Regions from separate parts of the Homo sapiens genome. Here all the other regions are linked to region 3. The links are contacts of gene promoters, found by promoter capture Hi-C in human tissues and cell types (Jung and others, 2019). All regions are on one chromosome and are shown on one strand. The core of a region is centred on a gene start or on the middle of the fragment in contact, and the rest is flanking DNA. Distances in the headings are between cores, read along the strand shown. Region 1 overlaps LOC105370275 (a long non-coding RNA gene). Region 2 has its middle 8.5 kb from the start of SPRY2. Region 3 holds the start of NDFIP2 (Nedd4 family interacting protein 2).

What was found. Contacts are between HindIII fragments. The study calls those that stand out against the background at their distance.
Region 1: a contact is called between a fragment that was not itself captured here and the fragment with the promoter of NDFIP2 in region 3, in 1 of the 25 tissues and cell types used here (mesendoderm cells).
Region 2: a contact is called between a fragment that was not itself captured here and the fragment with the promoter of NDFIP2 in region 3, in 1 of the 25 tissues and cell types used here (dorsolateral prefrontal cortex).

The regions. Positions count from the first base shown.
Region 1 is chr13:80,147,986-80,151,885 of GRCh38, reverse strand. All of the region lies in intron 2 of LOC105370275 (a long non-coding RNA gene), which reads left to right. Among named protein-coding and RNA genes, the nearest start is that of LINC01080, 140 kb to the right of the region's middle. The HindIII fragment of the contact is 4,552 bases long and covers 292-3,900 here.
Region 2 is chr13:80,347,758-80,351,572 of GRCh38, reverse strand. No RefSeq gene overlaps it. Among named protein-coding and RNA genes, the nearest start is that of SPRY2, 8.5 kb to the right of the region's middle. The HindIII fragment of the contact is 4,436 bases long and covers 251-3,815 here.
Region 3 is chr13:79,479,180-79,483,052 of GRCh38, reverse strand. It overlaps NDFIP2 (Nedd4 family interacting protein 2), which reads right to left and starts at 1,898. Exons shown (of 8, transcript NM_019080.3): 1 at 1,529-1,898. The coding sequence starts at 1,849. It overlaps NDFIP2-AS1 (NDFIP2 antisense RNA 1), which reads left to right and starts at 1,822. Exons shown (of 3, transcript NR_046685.1): 1 at 1,822-1,901; 2 at 3,123-3,217. The HindIII fragment of the contact is 15,126 bases long and covers 1-3,873 here.

The sequences.
Region 1 (3,900 bases), core at 1,318-3,817, 670 kb before region 3:
TCCAAATTAATAGCGTTTTAGCTAGACACAGGGATGCCCAGCTAAATACTGTATTTCCCAGCTTCCCTTGAAGCTAGAAATGGCCATATGACTAAGTTCTGGACAATGCTTTGTAAATAAAATTAATGGGTATCATTTGTGAGATTTGTCCTTAAAATAACTGTTTGTGTACTTCTCTGGTTTCTTCTCCTTTTCCAGATGCTTAGAATGAGACTGAAATGCCATCTTAGGTCTACAAGTAGGGGCCATAAGTTAAAGAAGGCAGAGATGCCACTAGCCTTAGAGTGTCCACTTAACTCTAGACTTTTATACCACTGCACTTTGAGGTTTTCAATTATAGCACCTTAGCCTGTACCCTACCCACTCCCTTTCTTTCTTAAAACAAAATGAAACAAAAATAAATTTTGTTCAGGATAATTACATACTCAATGAAAATTTATTATCTCCTCAGACCCTTTTGCCATATCAGGTGGCCATAGGATCCATTTCAGGCCATGAGATATGACTGGAATATTCCTAGGAGGACCTTCCAAGAAATCTATCATTTTCATAATTAAAAAAAATAGACTGGACTGGTGTAAGTCATTTTGTTTCTTTTTTTTTTCTGCCTAGGAACCATTTATGATGTCATTGCTAAGTTATGCCTTCCCTATTGAAAATCTACACCTCACAATGACTAAAATACTATCAGATTTTGTTTCTACCTAGGACATTCCAAGTCATCAATCTAATGAATGGTACACATTGAGCTACAGCATTGATTTATATGTTTGAATTAGACAAGGCTTTACTCCATAGAACAGCCCTGGACTGACTACCTTAGGATTTCTAAATACCCAAGGAAACAAACAAAACAAAACAAAACAAAACAAAACCATCTTTTATTTTTTATACTCTGCTATATTCCCACTGTCTGGCTTATATAATAAATGTTCAAGAAAATCTGCTGAATAAGTAAATAAATTAATACCATTATAGACTATTTTAACTTTTCAACTCCTTGGGAGGAGTTAATTAGTATAAATTAACATAGCTGGGAATTGTTTTATGATTGACAGACCAAATCCTTTAACATTCATTCTATGATATAATTGAAATACATTTGGAGTTCCTATATGAAAACATTCTGCTACGCACTACGAGACACAGAAGTAAATACATAGGCAAGCATAGGCTCTATTGAGGTTAGAATTAAATAAAAAATTTGTGTGATGCTTTAATGTAATATCTGCTTTATTTTAGTGGACTGGAAAGAAACTTTGAATATCTCTGTGTTATGCCTGTAGTTCTCTGATGGCTATTTGGGTGAAAGAAACCATATACGAATTATCTAAGTTTTAAGATATATTCGTTGATATTACAGAAAGATGAAGATTACCAAGCATTTGTTGAGTTTCTGTTTCACTGGTGCAGTTGGTACCAGGCAGAAGGCTTAGTTGTACAGTCAGTGAGAGGGATTTTTTCTCCTGCCTTGCATTTCACTACCACCGATGAAGGGTATTGCTGATATTAAATATTCAGACAGATCTAATCCAATCACCACTGAAGAACTTTACTAGCAGATAGAGAGCAGTTTACAAGATATTTAAGAATCCAGTAATATGGTTTCTCAAAAAACTACCACACAAATAGTTGTTAGCAGAAAACTGAATACAAAGAATAATTCCAGGAATCGTGGAGGCTGAAAGATATAATTTAAGCCTTAAACTGAAATACATCATTTATTAGACCTCATTCTTTGATCTTTAAACCCAAAACTCTGCGTTCATTGAGATATTCCAGGAATATCTTAACCACAAATTCAAAAGTGTTTTGTCAATATTTTATCATTACAGTTCATAAGAGCCCTTTTGTGGAAAGGAACAAGATTTGTAATCATCCCTATTTGGCAGTTGTGGCAACACCAAGGGAAAGTCATAGGGAGCTGGCCTTGGTCTCTAGGATACAACAGTTGTATTTACTCTAATTGTAGCTGCCCAATCTGAGAAGTTTGCATCAAACTGATGAGCGCTTTCTTCTCAGCATACTAAGCAGTATGCTGAGTTTTAATAGGATCTGGATCGGGTCTAGTGAATACATGGCATTGCAGATGGACTCTGGAGAGCTTGTGATTAGAAAAGTTCTCTGAAATTCCTGTCGCCTGTAACAGAAAGATGGTGAGAATAGAAACCTATGGACATTGAAAAAAAAAAAAAAAAAAAGAAAAAACCTTCTAACTAACTATCCTTTAAGGCCAACCCAAACCACCTCCTCTATGGAGCCTTGCCACATTCCCTCAATCATTTATAATCCACCCTTCCTTTTACTCTCTATAGCATTTGGTTTAGTTTTGGATTTTTTTTTCAAATCCCTTCCTTTAAAACATTATTTTGTTTTAATGGACTTATGGTGACTTATGTAAACATTTTCATTTCTTATACAATAGTCATTTTAATTCTAACCTCAATAGAGCCTATGCTTGCCTACGTATTTACTTCTCTCTCTGTCTTTTGTAGTGCTTAGTAGAATGTTTTCAGATAGGAACTCCAAATGTATTTCAATTATATCATAGAATGAATACTTTGTTTTATATGTAAATAGATGTGCTATCATTCAGGTTTTGTTATTCCATTTATAAAGCACAGAGTAGAGGTAGTGTAGTTCTTAAGGGTCCTAGGATTTTCAGAATATTAAATGAGCATTGGCTTCAACTTAAAGTCACTAGCTGTATTAGCCCCTAACAAGAAAATTGGTCTGACCTTTGAAGCTTTGAAGTCAGCCATTGTCTTCTCCTCTCTAGCTACAAAGTCCTAGATGGCATCTTTACCAATATAAGGCTGCTTCATCTTCATTGAAAATCTGTTGTTTAGTGTAGCCACCTTAATCAATGATCTTAGCTAGATCTGTTGGGTAACTTGCTGCAGCTTCTTTGTCAGCTTTGAATTGAAGAGAATTAGGGCCTTGCTCTGGAGTAGGCTTTGACTTAAGGGATGTTGTGGCTCCTTTCATCTATGCAGACCACTATAATTTTCTCCATACAAGTTGAGTATCCCTTATTTGGAATCCATGGGATCAGAAGTATTTTGGATTTCAGAGTTTTTCAGATTTTGGAATATTTGCATCATACTTATTGGTTGAACATCCCAAATTCAAAAATCTGAGATCTCAAATGCTCCAGTGAGCACTTCCTTTGAGCATCATGTTGGCACTCAAAAATTTTCAGATTTTAGAACATTTCACATTTTGAATGTTTGGATTTGAGATGCTCAACCTCTGTCAGCAATAAGACTATTTCACTCTCTTATCTTTAATGTGTTCACTGGAGTAGAACTTTTAATTTCCTTCAAGAACTTTGCCTTTGGCTTCACAACTTGGCTAACTGTTTGGTGCAAGAGCGCTAGCTTTCAATGTAGCTCAGCTTTCGACATGCCTTCCTCACTAAGCTTAATCATTTCTAGCTTTTGATTTAAGCTGAGAAATGCACAACTCTTCCTTTCACTTGAACACTTAGAGGTCATTAAGGGTTATTAATTGGACTGATTTTAATATTGTTGTTGTTTCAGGGATTAGGGAGGCCCAAGCAGAGGGAGAGAGATGAGGAAATGCCTACTTGGTGGAATAGTCAGCACACACACATTTATCGATTAAGCTTGCCATCTTCTATGGGTATGAGTCATGACACCCCAAAACAATTACAACAGTAACACCAAACATCACTGATCACAGATTACCGTAACAGATATAAAAATAATGACAACATTGGGAATATTGTGCGACTTACCAAAATGTGAGGCAGAGACACAAGGTGAACATGTGCATGTGGAAAAATGGCATCAATACACTTGCTCAATCCAGGACTGCCACCAATCCTCATTTGTAAAAAAATATCTGTGAAGTGCAATAAAACCAGGTATGCCTGCA
Region 2 (3,815 bases), core at 1,219-3,718, 870 kb before region 3:
CTACAAGGAACTTAAGTAAAGTTACAAGAAAGAAAAACAGCCCTATCAAAAAGTGGGGGAAGGATATGAACAGACACTTCTCAAAAGAAGACATTTATGCAGCCAACAAACATATGAAAAAAAGCTCATCATCACTGGTCATTAGAGAAATGCAGATCAAAACCACAATGAGATACTATCTCACAACAGTTAGAATGGAGATCATTAAAAAGTCAGGAAACAACAGATGCTGGAGAGGATGTGGGGAAATAGGAATACTTTTACACTCTTGGTGGGAGTGTAAATTAGTTCAACCATTGTGGAAGACAGTGTGGTGATTCCTCAAGGATCTGGAACCAGAAATACCATTTGACCCAGGAATCCCATTACTGGGTATATACCCAAAGGATTATAAATCATTCTACTATAAAGACACATGCACAGGTATGTTTATTGTAGCACTATTTACAACAGCAAAGACTTGGAACCAACCCAAATGCCCAGCAATGATAGACTGGATAAAGAAAATGTGGCACATATACACCACGGAATACTATGCAGCCATAAAAAAGAATGAGTTCATGTCCTTTGCAGGCACATGGATCAATCTGGAAATCATCATTCTCAGCAAACTAACACAGGAACAGAAAACCAAACACCACATATTCTCAATCATAAGTTGGAGTTGAACAATGAGAACACATGGACACAGGGAGGGGAACACCACACCGGGGCCTGTCGGGGGATGGGGGACAAGGGGAGGGAGAGCATCAGGACAAATATGTAATGCATGCAGGGCTTAAAACCTAGATGATGGGTTGATGGGTGCAGCTAACCACCATGGCACATGTACACCTATGTAAAAACCTGCACGTTCTGCACATGTCTCCCAGAACTTAAGGTATAATAAAAAAGAATAATTAAAAAAAAAAAACAGAATCGTTTGTCTACTGCCACAATCCCTGGCCCTGCCTGGTGTTGAAATGCCGTGATGATGTCTCAGACTTATAGGACTCTTTCTTGGAACTCAAGTATTTCATCTTCTGCCTAGAACTGAATTCCATTGTAAGGTTATTGTACTTGCTACAAACCTAAGAGTCTTTTTCACTCACACCCTCAGTATATATGTAGAGAATTTTAGCTTCCTAATAAACCATTTAAAATTAGTGCTGGGATTACAAGTGTGAGCCACCACACCCGGCCAGTGATTTTTATTCTAACTCCTATACAAATTCACATTTACAGGATCATAGTAGCCTAAAGAATTCAAAACAGTGAAATACCACTGCATTCTACTGTACAACAAATACCTATGCCATTACATAATTTATTATAGGTGAATGTACCTGTTCCTCCTAATGGGGGATGGAGCTTCTAAACCATTTCAGATACAGGGCTACATTCCAAAAATATATACTTCAATCCAGTGTTGGATAAGAGCCTAAATGTTGGATAATATCCTAAATGTTCCCTCAAATAAGAGGGAATTTACATTCTCAAGCCTCCAGATTTCCTGAACAAATAATTCAATGAGTAGATATTCTAGTTAGAAACAACCATATCGGCTAAACAGGTCCCTTCTTCCCTAAAATGTTTTATGTACTTTGAAGAAGTCATACATGAAAGAAAAGTCAATGTATGGTTAAGATTTAATGTAAGAAACACTGTCTATTACTAGGTAAATATAGCTAAATACAGTTAAAACTTATTCTAAATCTCTAAATTATTATTCCTGTGTTTATGCAAACATAAAATAAATCAAATTCTACTAAGTTTAAAGCTTTTTGAAAGGATGGAAGCAAAACAGCTAATTTTACTAAATAAACTATCAAGCCCCATTTAACTGAAGTTATTGCAGCTACTTATTGAGAACTTCCCACATGCTAGGCTGGGTAGATACTTTATGTCATCCAATCTTCCAAGTGACCCCATGCCCCTCTTTTACAGGTGGGGACTAAGGTTAATTATTTCAGTCATTTATTCATTCATCCTTTTTTTTTTTTTTTTTTTTTTTTTTTGAGACGGAGTCTCGCTCTGTCCCCAGGCTGGAGTGCAGTGGCGCGATCTCAGCTCACTGCAAGTTCCGCCTCCCAGGTGCATGCTATTCTCCTGCCTCAGCCTCCAGAGTAGCTGGGACTACAGGCGCCTGCCACCACGCCCAGATAATTTTTTGTATTTTTAGTAGAGACGGGGTTTCACCATGTTAGCCAGGATGGTCTCAATCTCCTGACCTCGTGATTCGCCCGCCTCGGCCTCCCAAAGTGCTGGGATTACAGGCGTGAGCCACCGCGCCTGGCTCATTCATCCTATTGAAAACTAATGTTTGAGCTCCCTGTATGTATTAGGCCCTTCGGTTCTGGAAATACAATGGTGGGCAAAACCAGACTTGGATTCCAGCCCTCATGGACCTTAAAATACAGTGAAAGAGACAGTTATTAATGAAACAATCACAATTACATGTATAGTTGCACCGGAGAAGGTCATGAGAAAAAAAGGTGGGATTTCACCTAGTCAGAGAAGTCAGAAAAAGCTTTCCTGAGAATATGACAACAGAGATTTGAAAGATAAGTAGGCCATCGTGGGCAACATTGTGAGAACTGTCTCTACAAAAAAAAAAAAGTTAATTAGCCAGGCATGGCGGTGGTGCATGCCTGTGGTCTCAGCTATTCAGGAGTCTGAATTAGGAGGACTGCTTGAGCCCAGAAGTTCAAGGCTGCAGTGAGCCAGGATAGGACTACTGCATTCCGGCCTGGGTGACATAGCAAGACGCGTCTAAAAAAAAAGAAAGAAAGAGAATGAAAAGAGAAAGATAAATAAGAGTTAATAAAGCAAATAAGGTTAATAAGAAAAGTGCATCAGGGAATAGCATGTAATAAGGCCCTGTTGCAGGAGAGAGGTGCTTCTGAGCAACTAAAAAGTAGCCTTCATAACTGCAGGGTAGAAAGCAAGAGAGTGTGTAAAAACAGAAAGAAAAGAGAAGAGAAGAGAACTGGTGTAACAGGAGTCTGGTGAGGGAAAACAGCCAGACCAGAGTAGGACCTTGAAGTTGTTTGAAAGACTTGGATCTTTACCCAGAAAGTAATGTGAAGCCAGGGGAGAATCTAAGCAACAGGCAATTGTGATCAGATTCACCCAAAGTGGTCTAGATTGCATCCAAATCCAGCTCTCTTGAACTACCAAAGTCTCTGGAACCTATTATGATATCAAAAGTTCAATCTTGAGCATCTTTTTCTATTAGCAACTACAGTTTAAAAAAAGAAAATAATGATTTTGAAAATCTAATTTCTTTTTCTTTTTCTTTTTCTTTCTTTTTTTTTTTTTTTTGAGACAGAGTGTCTCTCTGTCGCCTAGGCTGGAGTACAGTGGCACGATCTCGGCTCAATGCAACCTCTGCCTCCTGCATTCAAGCAATTCTGCCTCAGCCTCCCAAGTGCCTGGGACTGCAGATGTGTACCACCACGCCTGGCTAATTTTTGCATTTTTAGTAGAGACGGGGTTTCACCATGTTGGCCAGGCTGGTCTTGAACTCCTGACCTCAGGTGATCCATCCTCCTCAGCCTCCCAAAGTGCTGGGATTACGGGCATGAAGCACTGTGCCCAGACTGAAGATCTAATTTTTAATTTTGCTCATATATTTATTTTAACACATGTTAGGATATAATGCAAGAAGGTCTCTGTGGTGTAAAATGAGGGTGAGAAGAATACTTACCAAAAGTGCAAGGGGATTTCTCACATACAACATGAACGGCAAACTGTCCACTAATTGACGGCTTCCTTGAGCTATTTTTAAAATGTGTTCTTGAAAGTTAACAGACTGCTAACTTCTTATTTGAAAT
Region 3 (3,873 bases), core at 649-3,148:
TATCTTAAAACTGAGAGCTACATAAATTAACAGTGTTTTGGGTAGTGACGTCTGTAGGAAAAATGAAACAAGTTTCACTGCTGATATTATTCAATATTTATATCATTTTATTTTTGCTAACATTTACAAACCTAGAAATGCCTTTCAAACCATCAAAAGGGTGTACACTGACAACTTGAAAAACGCTTTCCATACTGGGAGAAACAGTATTTCCCAAGTTGTTGAGAAAAGCTGATAAATTTTCAAAGAATTCGGAATATGGACCTTTTGTAGGTTTTAAGGAATGCAAACCAATTGAAAATGGAAGCCTCATGAGCTTTTATCTTAGAAAAATGCAAAATTACATACTTTAGGATCTCATCTTACAGTTCCTTCATATTTGCCAAAATGTACTTATTAATAGAAAGTCTTGGCTTATAACCTGTCTTACATGTGCAAATAGATTTGAAAGTTGAAACCTGGGACTAACATACCTAAATTTGTAAAATTTTATAAACCATAAACTGCATCACCAGTGCTATGTATTGTTTTTCTCCTCTCCCTCAGTAAATGGGCTGAAAGTTTGTAGAATGACATGCTACCTAGCTGCAACAGCACAACAGCAGAGTCAACTATTGCTCAGTCCATCTTTAACTAAGGTTTACAACAGGAATCTCCAACGTCACCACCAGAATACACAAAGAAAAATATATTTAAAAATTGACACTGAAAATATAGAGGAACACATTTCACTTTTTTCAACATAGTTACCAAAGTTTACACAGTTAAGCTGGAAAACCTTGTATTTAACGAAAAATAATTTTTCAAACAAGATTAGAATTTGTTCTACTAAAACTACCTCTGTTTCCCCTCTAACCAAAAAAAAAAAAAAAAAAAAAAAAAAGAAAGAAAGAAAGAAAGAAAAAGTGGGGATTACCAAAAAATACAGTCATTTTTAATACTAACATAATGGAAAAGGACAAAATGACAAGGTTAACGAGCAGAGAGACAAGATCAGCATTATGGCTAGTCTTTCTCTACAGTTCCACAATTCCTAACCCACATTTTTGCCAAATCCACATCCCACCCCACGCAGTACTTACACCTCCACCCACCTACTCACCCACCCCATTTATGACGGCGATCACCTTCCGGGCAGGTATGTGAAGTCAGCCCCATTTCCAGTAGACAATCGACTAGAATGTCTCAGGAGTGACTGAGTCAGAGAATAAGAAAATGATAAAGTGAGAAATTAAAACGGATACAAGTTGTAAGGTGTGTGGAGGGAGGGCGTCTCACAGCGGGGCTAAGGGTGCGGGTGAGGAGCTAAGCAGACTTGGGGCGAGAGAGAAGGGTTTCGAAGGAGTCCTAGGCAGGAGTGCGCAGGTGAGGCGAGTGAAGCAGCTCCAGCCAGAAGATCCAAAAAAACAAAACAAAACACAACAAAAAAAAGCCACAGCTTTTCCTCCGGGAATAACCTGAGGAAAGGGACTCTCGGGACGCCGCGGCGGGAGGCAGTCCCGGGAGGCACAGGAGGCCGGGAACTCACCACCTGGTAGCGCCCAGTCCCCGGCTGGTGGTGATCCATCCTGCCCGGCTCGGGATCCGGCTTCCGAGAGAGGGAGTCTTCTCCGTGCTCAGCTCCCACGGCCACCCCCGTCGACGACGTCGTCGCCGCAGGGCCCCTTCCGCCTCCGTTCCTGCAGCCGCGGTCTCCCGGCGGAAGCTCTTCACTTCCTGTGGCTCCCGCAGCGGCCGCCGAGACCTCCGCGTTGGTCGCGGTTCCGCGGAGAAGCTCCGGGGCGCCGCGCGCGCTATTGAGCATGCTCGGACCGCTCGCGCAGACTCGCTGGCTCCGCCGGCGTGCCATCCGCGCCGCCAGTGGGAGGGTATAGCTGGGTGGGAGGAGATGGAAAAGTAAGGCAAGTCCGGGGGAGCTGTCTAGGTTGTCAACCTGTCGAGTGGGCGGTCGCAAAAGGCGCGCGGGGGGCGGGAATGACCCGTCCTTGATTGGTCTTTTCTGTGTGCGCGAGTTTCGCGCAGGCACGAGCCAGTGCGCCTTCTCACCACACAGAGACAGAGGCTGACAAGGGATGGGGCCGCGTTCCTAGAACACCTGAGGACAGGTCGCCCGGGTACCCGACACTTCCTCACCCAGCGTAGGACATGGGGAGGAGATTCATCTCTAGAACATTCCCAAAACGCTTATTCAAAATCATTCGTAAGATAAGCGATTTTTTAAAGACTAATATAGAGTAGTTAGAGTTTACAGAAAAATTGAGAAGTTACAGAGATATCCCATATACACTTGGCTCCTACGCATGCATAACCCCCCACCATTATCAACATCCCCCCTCAGAGTGGTACATGTGTTACGACTGATGAACCTGCATTGACACCTCATCATCACTCAAAGTCCATAGTTACCTCAGGGTTCACTCAGGTTGTTGTATACTCCTCGAGTTAGAACAAATGTGTAATGGCAGGTATCCATCATTATAGTATCCTACAGAGTATTTCCACTGCCCTGAAATTCTTCTGTGGGGTAATTTTTGTTTTTGTTTGTTGTTTTTTTAGAGATGGGGTCTCACTATATTGCCCAGACTGGAGTGCAGTGGCTGTTAGCAGGCGCAGTCATGGCTCACTGTAGCCTCGAACTCCTCGGCCCAAGCTATCCACCTGCCTCAGCCTCTGGAGTAGCTGAGACTACAGGCACTAGCTCTTTGGTTACTTTTTAAACTCTTTTTTCCACTTTTTGGTAATAAGAGATTTAAAAATCCAACGGACTCTCCAGACAACTCTCAAAGAAAGAGGTCTCTAGAGTTCTAGGTTACTGGAAGGACGTTAGAAGAAAGTAATGAAATCAGATAGGATTATTTTGTGGTAATACTCAATAATTCCAATTGATTTAACAGCAAGGAATCACTTGGGAGCACTGTTAGTAGTATCTCACTGTCTGGTTAACCACACATGACACGGCATAAAGCATATTTCTCTAGCAAGTAGAAGAGTATGACAGAGCAGCGAAAAGTACCTTTTAACCTGAAGACCAACGTTCTATACCCTAAAAACTATGATGCTGCTTGATGTGGCCCAGCTATGTTTTTAACATAACACCACATTTTCCCTAAATGATCTTACAGTGGAGCGCCCTGAAGGGAAGGAAAGGGATCTGGAGCCCCATTTATTTCCTTCATGAATGTCCAGAGGAGATCCTTGAAATGAAGACTGCCACTGGGTGAGCCTAATCAACTGGTTAAAATAGCAAGATAGAATAAAAACAGAAACTCTTTGAGAGATTGACAACTAAAAAATGTAAGCCTTCCTCATAGTTCTTTTTAAAGCATTCATCAACTCTTCCTATTTGTGCCGTTTTGACATGTCTAATAGCATAAAGCATTACTGTGCTAACAATAAGAGGCAGTGATATCTCATACTTAAATATTGTTAAACTTGCCTTGTTTTGATCTTAATGTATTTTAGTTTCTAAGCCAATAAACATATGCCATTTTATTGGTATTACTGGTACAAACGCTCACTCTCACAATTTCACTCCAAATGGTATTGCCTCTCGATGACCAAAACAACAGCCAGTATCAGCAAACTGAAATTAGATCCTTATATCACTTACGATCTATAAGATTTATTTAGAACTTAATTTTATATGCATATGTGTTTTCATTAATCATTCATGTGTTCATCTGTTTCTCAAATAGATGGCTGCTCAGGGCAGAGACCATTTCTTACACCCAATGCAGCACTGAGAACATAAAAGTAAAAATCAAAGATCTGACCAAAAGCAGACATCTTGAATCCTGATAGAGTAACAGATTCTTTCTATTTTACCCTCCTCCCAGATTCTCTGAACATTTTGCTAATCTAGTGGAGTAACAA